2 separate regions of the Homo sapiens genome follow, and region 1 is linked to region 2. Evidence: promoter capture Hi-C in human tissues and cell types (Jung and others, 2019). All regions are on one chromosome and are shown on one strand. The core of a region is centred on a gene start or on the middle of the fragment in contact, and the rest is flanking DNA. Distances in the headings are between cores, read along the strand shown. Region 1 overlaps TMEM150B (transmembrane protein 150B). Region 2 holds the start of RPS9 (ribosomal protein S9).

Evidence for each region. Contacts are between HindIII fragments. The study calls those that stand out against the background at their distance.
Region 1: a fragment that was not itself captured here is called in contact with the fragment with the promoter of RPS9 in region 2 in 1 of the 25 tissues and cell types used here (dorsolateral prefrontal cortex).

Annotation. Positions count from the first base shown.
Region 1 is chr19:55,314,028-55,319,591 of GRCh38, forward strand. TMEM150B (transmembrane protein 150B) reads right to left here. Exons shown (of 8, transcript NM_001282011.2): 7 at 2,759-2,939. Among named protein-coding and RNA genes, the nearest start is that of TMEM150B, 8.5 kb to the right of the region's middle. The HindIII fragment of the contact is 7,983 bases long and covers 244-5,564 here.
Region 2 is chr19:54,198,834-54,204,515 of GRCh38, forward strand. It overlaps RPS9 (ribosomal protein S9), which reads left to right and starts at 2,025. Exons shown (of 5, transcript NM_001013.4): 1 at 2,025-2,055; 2 at 2,327-2,448; 3 at 2,654-2,776. The coding sequence starts at 2,352. RefSeq lists an enhancer at 1,413-2,082 and a silencer at 1,845-2,338. The HindIII fragment of the contact is 8,370 bases long and covers 1-5,138 here.

The DNA of each region.
Region 1 (5,564 bases), core at 2,985-5,484, 1.1 Mb after region 2:
GGTCTTTTTTTTGAAACAGAGTCTCACTCTGTGTCCCAGGCTGGAATGCAGTGGCGTGATCTCGGCTCACTGCAACCTCTGCCTCCCAGGTTCAAGCGATTCTTGTGCCTCAGCCTCCTGAGCAGCTGGGACTACAGGCGTGTGCCACCACACCTGGCTAATTTTTGTATTTTTAGTAGAGATAGAGTTTCACCGTGTTGGCCAGACAGGTCTTGAACTCCTGATCTCATGTCATCCGCCCGCCTTAGTCTCCCAAAGCGCTGGGATTATGGGCATGAGCCACAATGCCTGACCGTAAACTTCCTATGGCTCTCTATCACCCCCAGGCAGAAACCCAAGCCTCTGATCCCTAATTTTAGAGAATCCTCAGCCCTGGCCCTGCCAGCAGCCTCACTCCTCCCTGGGCTGGTCTTTCTGCTCGGTGCGTGTACCTGCAGTGTGCCCTCAACCTCCCAGCCCACGAGCAGCTCCTTCTGCAAGGCCAGGCTCAGAATCCGGCCAGGCTCAGGCCCGTCTTTACAGACGTCCATCCCTTACGACACTCAGCTAGCTGTCTTTATGGTTCCCTCCCCCACCTACCCCACCCAAGAGACTACTGAGTCCCACAGAATGAAGGCCCCTGTGGCTAAACTGATCATCAGGGCTAGTTTAGAAGATCTGGGCTGGATCTTATCACCATCAGGGCCCCTGCAAAGGAGACCTAATGGTCTCATACCCCAAGTCACTATAGGCCGGGCTGAGGGGCCAGCCCTCTCAACTATTTTGTGAAGATACACTTTGTCACTCCAGGAAATACGATCACCATTTCCATTTTGCTGAGAAAATTTCCAAGAAACGGATGCACTTAATACAACCAACACAGGGCCTTAGCTGGTTTCTCTGTACTCTCTTCTGAATGCCTGCACACTCTGGGCCTCCCCACAAATGAGAAAGACCCCCCAAGGCTGGGTTTTCAGCCCCTCCTTTCTCTCACTCTACACTCTACCTATCAGAATTAATCACTGTAGGCTGGGCACAGTGGCCCACACCTGTAATCCCAGCACTTTGGGAGGCCGAGGCGGGCAGATCACCTGAGGTCAGGAGTTCGAGACCAGCCTGCCCAGCATGGTGAAACCCCATCTCTACTAAAAACACAAAAATTAGCCAGGTGTGGTGGTGCATGCCTGTAGTCCCAGCTACTTGGGAGGCTGAGGCACAAGAATTGCTTGAAACTGGGAGGTGGGGGTTGCAGTGAGCCAAGATCATGCCACTGCACTCCACCCTGGGTGACAGAGTGAGACTCCATCTCAAAAAATAATAATAACAAGATAATAATAATAATAGGCCGGGCATGGTGGCTCATGCCTGCAATCCCAGAACTTTGGGAGGCCAAGGCAGGTGGATCATGAGGTCAGGAGTTCGAGACCAGCCTGGCCAATATGATGAAACCCCGTCTCTACTAAAAATACAAAAGGCCAGGCACGGTGGCTCACACCTGTAATCCCAGCACTTTGGGAGGCCAAAGTGGGCGCATCACAAGGTCAAGAGATCAAGACCATCCTGGCTAACATGGTGAAACCCTGTCCCTACTAAAAATACAAAAAATTAGTTGGGCATGGTGGCTGGCGCCTGTAGTCCCAGCTACTCAGGAGGCTGAGGCAGGAGAATGGCATGAACCTGGGAGGCGGAGCTTACAGTGAGCCAAGATCACGCCACTTCACTCCAGCCTAGGTGACAGAGCGAGACTCCGTCTCAAAAAAAAAAAAAAAAAAATTAGCCAGGTGTGGTTGGCAGGTGCCTGTAGTCCCAGCTACGTGGAAGGCTGAGGCAGGAGAATCGCTTGAACCCGGGAGGCGGAGGTTGCAGTGAGCTGAGATCACGCCACTGCACTCCAGCCTGGGCGACAGAGCAAGACTCTGTCTCAAAAATAAATAAATAAAAATAATCATGATGATAAAAGCAAATCCATTTTATGGATATGGAAACTGAGGCCTCAGAGAGTGACCTGACCCATCTAGAAGTACACTGTGCTGGTGGAAAGTGCCTCGGTTCTGGGGATGGCTCAGAAATGAGTTGGAATTGAGTCAAGCCTCATGTGGTGTGCTAGTAAATGTTTAACAACTGGCTCTGGTTGGTGGCATCTGCCAATTACAGTGGTATAAATACTCCCATGATGGCTATTTCAAGCTACTCACATGATATCACAGGACATGGAGTTCGGACGAGCAGTTCACAGAATGCCTCTCAGAGCCTGCGCAAGCCACCTGCAGCCTATCACCAGCTCCATTGCAGAACCTCACGCGCATCCTGGCCGAAAGACTTTTCCTGTCTGAACCCGTCTTCACTCGTAACCACATGATTCCTGGCACAGAGCAGGTGCCCTCAAGGGACTGTTCTTAGTATATCATTCTTCCAGCGTCTATTGGTCACTCGCTATGTGCCAGGCACAGATCTAAGCACCGTATGCCTATTATCCTATCCACTCCACAACCCTGAGGTCAGCCCTGTCGTTATCCACATTTGAGGGATGACGAAACCATTGACACCGAGAAGTAACAGCCCGCGGAAGTTTCCCCCAGCTGCTGTGTGGAGGACAGGGGCTTCCAACCTGGGCAACCTGACCCCGAAGTCGGCATTCTCGATGACAAAGCCATAATCCTGTGCAAAGAGTGAGGCCCAGAGAAAGGAAGAGACATCCCCAGTGACAGACAGCCAGGCAGGAAGACCAACTCCAGTGAAGAGCCACCTCCAAGCCCTACCCCGGATACAAGAAGGATACTGGCCACAATGAGGATGGTGCAGACGCTGCAGAGGCCCAGGCGGAGGGGCCCAATCCAGGCAGCCCCGGGCTGGGGCAGCCTCTTCAGCCTCCACAGGAGGAGCTGCAGCCAGAAGTAGACGTTACCCAAGATGAAGGCAAGGAAGGCCCCTGCCAAGTGCGTAGGCCGCTGGTTCTTTTCCTGGGAGGAGAAGGGAGAAGTTGGGAGGGAGACTCTGGGAAGGAGGGTAAGGGGCACCAGAGGGGCCAGGGCCCTTCACCAATGCAGTAGACAGTGGTCACCAACTTTCCATACCCAGTGATGGGCTTATTAAGCACATCAGCTATTGTCAGCTCCACGAGAGCAGGCATTGAAATCTGTTGTTCACTGCTGTGGCCTCAATTCCTAGAACAGTGATGGGCACATAGTAGATGCTCAGTAAATATGAGTGGGATAAATCTTGCATTCTCAAGGCGGGGGACAGACATTTCCCCAAAAATTGGTCTTGCAGGTGAAAAATTCTTAAATATTACAATTGTATGTGACTCACGGATACATAGCACATATTCCATTAAAATTTTAAAATACTTAAAATTTTGGCCTGGTGCGGTGGCTCACATCTGTAATCCCAGCTCTTTGGAAGGTGAAGCAGGCAGATCACTTTGAGCTCAGGAGTTCAAGACCCACCTGAGCAACATGGCAAAACCTCGTCTCTACAAAAAATACAAATATTGCCAGGCATAGTGGCTCACACCTGTAATCTCAGCACTTTGGGAGGCCAAGGCGGGTAGATCACTTGAGGTCAGGAGTTCGAGACCAGCCTGGCCAACATGGTGAAACCCTGTCTCTACTAAAAATACAAAAAATTAGCTAGGCGTGGTGGCGGGCACCTGTAATCCCAGCTACTTGGGAGGCTGAGGCAGGAGAATCACTTGAACCCAGGAGGCAGAGGTTGCAGTGAGCCAAGATCGCACCATTGCACTCCAGCCTGGGCAACAAGAGTGAGACTCCATCTCAAGAAAAAAAAAAATACAAATATTAGCCGGTCATGGTGGCTCAGGCCTGTAATCCCAGCTACTCAGGAGGCTGAGGCTGGAGGATTACTTAAGCCCAGGAAGCAGAGGTTGTAGTGAGCTGAGATGGCACCATCGCACACCAGCCTGGGCAACGGAGCAAGATCCCATCTCAAAAATAAATAAACAAATAATAAATAAATAAAATAAATACTTAAAATTTCATGGGAAGAGGGGAGAACCAGGGGGAAATGTCTAAAAATACTCCTTAGAGGAGCAAGATAATAATAATAGGTTGAGGGCTGGGCACAGTGGCTCATGCCTGTAATCCCAACACTTAGGGAGGCCAAGGTAGGCAGATCACTTGAGGTCAGGAGTTTGAGACCAGCGTGGCCAACATGGTGAAACCTTATCTCTACTAAAAATGCAAAAAGTAGCCGGGCGTGGTGGTGAGCGCCTGTAATCCCAGCTACTCTGGAAGCTGAAGTTAGGAGAATCACTTGAGCCCGGGAGATGGAGGTTGCAGTAAGCCAAGATCTCACCACTGCACTCCAGCCTGGGCCACAGAGCAAGACTCTGTCTCAAATAAATAAATAGTTGTGGAGCACTTTGGGAGGCTGAGGTGGGTGGCTCATTTGAGGTCAGGAGTTCAAGACCAGCCTGGCCAATATGGTGAAATCCCATCTCTACTAAAAATACAAAAAAAATTTAGCCAGGCCTGGTGGCAGGTGCCTGTAGTCTCAGCTATTTGGTAGGTTGAGGCAGGAGAATCGCTTGAACCCAGCAGGCGGAGGTTGCGGTGAGCCAAGATCGCACTACTGCACTCCAGCCTGGGTGACAGAGCAAGACTCCATCTCCAATATATGTATATATATAAATATATTCTCTGTGGTCCATGGGCAATGAGTGACCTAGCTAGAGTCTTCATGGAGATGGAATGAAGTCATGTACAAAATGGAAAGCCTGCTGCCAATGGCTGCCAAATGCTCAATCAATGTGCCTAACATGAAGAATGAGTAAATCTCAGTCATTTCTTTTTGGAGACAAGGTCTCACTCTGTTCACCAGGCTGGAGTGCAGTGGCACAATCACAGCTCACTGCAGCCTCGACCTCCTGGGCTCAAGCAATCCTCCATCTTCCCACCTCAGCCTCCTGCATAGCTGGGACTACAGGTTCACGCCACCATGCCTGGCTAATTCTTTATTTTTTGTAGAGACAGAGTCTTGCTATGTTGTCCAGGCTGGTCTTGAACTCCTGGGCTCAAGCCTCAGCCTCCAAAGTCCTGGGATTACAGGCATGAACCACTGTGCCCAGCCTCACTAATTTCTTTTTTCTTTTCTTTTCTTTTTTGAGACTGAGTCTCACTCTTGCAGCCCAGGCTGGAGTGCAATGGCATGGTCTCGGCTCAATGCAACCTCTGCCTCCCGGGTTCAAGCAATTCTCCTGCCTCAGTCTCCTGAGTAGCTGGGCTTACAGGCACCTGCCACCACCCCTAGCTAATTTTTTGTATTTTTAGTAGAGATGGGGTTTTACCGTGTTGGCCAGGCTGGTCTCCAACTCCTGACCTCAGGTGATCCACCTACCTTGGCTTCCCAAAGTGCTGGGATTACAGCCGTGAGCCACAGAGCCCGGCCAGTAATTTCATCTTCTTCTTCTTTTTTTTTTTTTTTTTTTTTTTTTTTTTTGAGAGAAGTCTCACTCTTATCCCCCAGGTTTGAGTGCAATGGCTCGATCTCGGCTCACTGCAACCTCCACCTCCCAGGTTCAAATGATTCTCCTGCCTCTGCCTCCCACGTAGCTGGGATTAAGTCGC
Region 2 (5,682 bases), core at 775-3,274:
TGTACAGAGTCAGCTGTGTTAAGATATTAAGCACCTTCAGTACACAAGACTCTGTGCTGGTTTTCTTTTCTTTTTTTTTTTTTTTTACTCTAAATCATCAAACCCTATGAGGAAAGTCCTGTTACTTTCTCCCATTTAGCACTCTTGAAGAGGCTAATTTGCCTAAGATCAAGAGCTCGTCAGTGACTGCTGAGGTTCAAACGCAGATCTTTTTTAAGACTTGAGAACCTACAGGTTCAACCACCATTATAAAACCATCTCTGTAATCACGAGGCACCCGGAATTTGTGGAGCTTGGACTTCATCCTGAAGGGAGTGAAAACTTATGGAAGTTTTTTCCTTCCACGTTTCCCCCTTCCAGATGAATAATATACGCGTGTTCAAGATACAAAAATGCATAAAATTTGGCCAGGCATGGTGGCTTACACCTGTAATCCCAGCACTTGGGGAGGCTGAGGCGAGTGGATCACTTGAGCCCAGGAGTTCAAGACCAGCCTGGGCAATATGGCAAAACCCCGTCTCAAAACAACAAAACAAACAAACAAAAAACCCATAAAACTGAACAAGGTAGTTTGTAAGATATGGAAGTACAATGCAGATGACAATAATGACGATGGTAGCTACCACTAGGCGCTTTATTTATGCCACTCTCCTCAACACTGGATAGACTCTCACTTAATCCTCACAAGCTTATGAGGTAGGCGCTACCATCATTCGCCGTTTTACAGAGGAGGACGCTGAGGCACAGAGTGATTGAGAAACTTGTCGAAGGCACTGCAGCTGGCAAGTGGTGACGTGGCATTTGAATCCAGGCATCCGGATGGTGTGGATGCCGTGGAAGAGAAAGGGGCGGGTGGGACTGCTTCCTGAGGAGATAGTGACTGCCGAGGCAGCAGCGTAGGGAAGACAACTGAAGAACACGAGCTGTGGAGACAGACCATCGCATTCGGAGTGGAGAGATGGGTGTACAGACAGACAATAACCAGACTATATATAAAAAGAGAACTCTAGGTCAGGCGCGGTGGCTCACACCTGTAATCTTAGCACTTTGGGAGGCTGAGGCGGGTGGATCACTTGAGGTCAGGCGTTGGAGACCAGGAGTTCAAAACCCCGTCTCTACTAAAAATTTAAAAATTAGCCGGGCATGGTGGTGGGCGCCTGTAGTCCCAGCTTCTCGGGAGGCTGAGGCACGAGAATCGATTGAACCCGGGAAGCGGAGGTTGCAGTGAGCCGAGATCGCACCACTGCACTCCAGCCTGGGTGACGAGAGCGAAAAACTCCGTCTCAAAAATAAAATAAATTACTGATAATAGTACTAATACCCCTTAAGTGGCTATTGATAATAATAGTACCATGGGTGGGGGGGCAACTTCTCTGAGAGTGCTCTGTAAGTATGTATTGAAGATTGAGTAAATACATTTAAAATTCTTAGAACAGTATGTGGCACATAGCGTTCCAGAATGCCACATTATTGTTAGTGACAGAAATAATCTCGGCTGGGCGCGGTGGCTCACGCCTGTAATCCCAGCACTTTGGGGGGGCCACGGCGGGAGGCTCTCTCGAGGCCGGGAGTTCAAGACCAGCCTGGGCAACATGGCAAGACGCCGACTGTTAAAAAAAAAAAATGCTACCCGGGCGTCGTGGCGTGTGCCTGTAATCCCAGCTACTGGGGAGGAGGTGGGAGGATCGCTCGAGCCCGAGAGGTTGGTCGGGGCCTCAGTGAGCCGAAATCACGCCACTGCACTCCAGCCTGGGCGACGGAGCGAGACCCTGTCTCAGAAAGAAAAAGAAAAACCACCGTCCAGGGGCGGAGAAGGAAGGTTCTCCCTACTTCTCAGGTTTCCACTCCCTGGCCGGAAAAAACCTAGTCCTCCCAGGTTAGCACGCCGCTCTAGCCCAGCCTCACGTCTCCACTGCTTCTCAGCCAGCCAACGCCTCTTCTGATTGGCTCTGACGTGCGTGGTGCGTGAAAACGTCACGAGACGCCGGCGTTACTATAAGAGCGCAGCCGTGGCGCTTCCGCGCCTCTTTCTCAGTGACCGGGTGGTTTGCTTAGGTGAGGTGCGGTGGTGTGCTTTTTCTCTAGGGTTTGGGTTGGATGGTGGCCCGGGCCTTCCGAGTTTCCATGAGTAAGCTAAAGACGTTAGGAAACAGAGCAGGGTGGTTGAACGGGAGTGCAGCACGGTTGTGGGGGCAGATACTGACTATGAGAGCGTTGGAGGTTATTCTCGCGAGATCGGATCTGGGCTCCGCGAGGTTTTGGCGTAGTTGTGGGACTGCGCAGGCGCCGTTTGGATCCCTTACGCTCACACTTCTCTCCCGCGCAGGCGCAGACGGGGAAGCGGAGCCAACATGCCAGTGGCCCGGAGCTGGGTTTGTCGCAAAACTTATGTGACCCCGCGGAGACCCTTCGAGAAATCTCGTCTCGACCAAGAGCTGAAGCTGATCGGTGAGTGGCCAAGGCTTCCGGGAAGTGGTTCGGCTTCCGGGAGGCGGTTAGCACGTGGATGAAGGTGCCCATGTACTCTATCTAGTCCGTCCCCTAAATTTGGTACTATTCGTGGTTTAGGAAGGTTTTGTGATTCCAAAGCTGCCAGTCTAGTTGTTGTGCCAGTACGTGGGACTACACTTGTCCACCCCCTTCTCCCCACCAGGCGAGTATGGGCTCCGGAACAAACGTGAGGTCTGGAGGGTCAAATTTACCCTGGCCAAGATCCGCAAGGCCGCCCGGGAACTGCTGACGCTTGATGAGAAGGACCCACGGCGTCTGTTCGAAGGTGCGTATGGGAGTCCACAGCAGAGGGATGGGGTGCAGGGCTTGTGAGGTTCATTCTCCCTTCTGTTGCCTCTGTTCCAGTGATGAGAGTTGTGTCATTGGATAAATGGAACCAGCCTTCTAACTTTTAGTGGCACTTGTGGAGTAGGAAAAGTGTATCTGGATCAGTCTTTGCCCTGTTTCTTAGGTGTGTGGCTTTTTTGCCCAGTTATTGGACCTTCAGTTTAGTAATGACCAGAGCTAAAGATAGGCCTGGCACACCTGGGCACCCGTCTATATCTTTATATTCTGTTTATGTGGCCTGTTTGCTAGTGGATGAGAGTAGACTATGAAGTGGAATTTCTGGGCTAAGTGATGGTGATAACAGGGTTTGCACATTTGCTTGGTTTATTGTTTTTTTAATTAAGTTTTCTCGTTTTATTTAGTCTTTTGAGACGGAGTCTTGCTCTGTTGCCCAGGCTGGAGTGCCGTGGCGCCATTTCGGCTTACTGCAACCCCCGCCTCCTGGGTTCAAACAATTCTCCTATCTTAGCCTCCCAAGTAGCTGGGACTACAGACAGGCGCACGCCACCACACCTGGCTAATTTTACTTTTGAGACGGAGTCTCGCTCCATTGCCCATGCTGGAGTGTAGTTGTCGCAATCTTGGCTCACTGCAAACTCCGCCTCCAGAGTTCAAGCGATTCTCCTGTCTTAGCCTCCTAAGTAGCTGGAATCACAGGCATGGGCCACCAAGCCTGGCTAATTTTCTATTATTAGTGGAGATGGGTTTTCACCATGTTGTCCAGGCTGGTGCTTGTTTTTTTAAGCTGGTCAAGGACATTTAGGTGGTATTTAGCAAAGGCCTGAACAGGAGAGAACCTGTAAAATGTCTCAGGGAACAGCATTTCAGGTGATGACTTTAGGAGGGCATGCAGATCACATAGACTTAGGCTTACTTTACTAATTGTGGTGAAATACACATTAAATTGAAAATGTACCATCTTAACCATCTTGTTTTAAAATCTACTCTGAGATGCGGTGTTATTGGAGTGCTTTCTACAGCAGATTGGCATGACCAAGATTGGCATTTGTATATCCTGAGACGCTGCTTTTGCCTGAGTTTGGGTAGTCATGATTTATGGTGAAAAGCAGTCTCTACACCTGAGCCCTGACTGTTAGGCATGAGAGTGGTCATCCATGTTAGGCGTTGAGAAAGTCCTGGCGCATGTTTAGCTACAGATTATCACAGTTTGTCCCAGGCTTGCAGATGTTAGAAGCTTTTTCTTTAAATAGGCACAGGATCTTGCAGTGTTGACCAGGATGGTTTCCAACTCCTAACCTCAAGTGATCCATCCACCTCAGCTTTCCAAAGTGCTGGGGTTACAGGTGTAAGCCACCGCACCTGACCCTTTCATTCTTTTCGTCAATTTGTAGACCCCGTTGATAATCTCATGAAAGTGCTGGAGATCCCTCCCCCATAGATACTGATGCTGGGTGGGAATTCATCCCAGGGTTCTGTGGGGAGTGGGCTATAGCTGGTTCTGGTTTTAGGGAGGACTTTCTGGACATAGATCCTAATTGCAATGAAACTTACAGTCATGTGAGAAAGCGGTGCAGGTGTCTGAGGGTTATTTGTGGTTTTCCAAGGCAGAAGTGAAAATTCCCAAGGGGTACACAGTTGTTCAGGTGAGTACACTTTCTAGTAAATGAAGCCATCTAGCCTAGTCAGGGACAGGAAGGAGGAGCTTGGATGTTTGCTCTTTGGTGTAATCCTGCCTTGATTCAGATCCTGCCTTTCCCACTAAGATGTGTGACTAGCGAGATTCTGAGTCTCGTCTGTTAAGACTGAACAGCCGCCAACATTTGGCTGGCAGTTAATAATCAACAGATAGAGGCCAGGCGTGGTGGCTCATGCCTGTAATCCCAGCACTTTGGGAGACCGAGGTGGTCGGATCACTTGAGGTCAGGAGACCTCAAGTCAGAGACCAGCCTGGCCAACGTGGTGAAATTCCATCTCTACGAAAAATACAAAAATTAGCCGAGCATGGTGGTGTGCCTATAATCCCAGCTACTCGGGAGGCTGAGGCAGGAGAATTGATTGAACCTGGGAGACAGAGACTGCAGTGAGCCGAGATCCGCGGCACTGCACTGGGTGACAGCGAGACACAAAACAACACGAACTCCCCCCCCACCCCCCAGCACAACTGTGAAGAAATGTAGGAGTCATGTCCATTTTTCAGATCAGAAATGAAGGCATTGTAATACCTAACTGCCTTGTATGATGACAAGGACCTGTTTCCCACTGAGGTCCTCCCTGGTTTGCATTTTTAAAGCATTTTAAATTCTCTTGGTGCATTGGCCCAGTGGAGCCTCAGCAGTAGGACATGCTTTTGTTGAAGGTGTAAGGTTTATTGTGCTGTTGAAAACTATTGTCTTCATACTTAAAGGTTTTGCCTGTGGCTGACTCTCCTGTTCTTTTTCAGGAGATAGATGGTTCAATAAATGTGGGCCTGAGTGCAGTGGCTCATGCCTGTAATCCCAGCACTTTGGGAGGCAGAGGCAGGCGGATCACCCGAGGTCGGGAGTTTGAGACTAGCCTGACCAAAGTGGAGAAACCCCTTAGTCTCTACTGAAAAAATACAAAATTAGCGGGGCGTGGTGGCGCATGCCTTTAATCCCAGGCTGAGGCAGGAGAATCCCAGGAGGCGGAGTTTGCAGTGAGCCGAGATCACGCCATTGCACTCCAGCCTGGGCAACGAGAGCGAAACTCTGTCTCAAAAATGATAATAAATGTGAAACATTTTTTTAAAATCATGCCTTTGTTTTGCCTAATGGTGACGATCTCACTTTGTCTCCCGGGCTGGAGCACAGTGGCATGGTCGTGGCTCACTGCAGCCTGGACCTCCTGTGCTTAAGTGATCCTCCT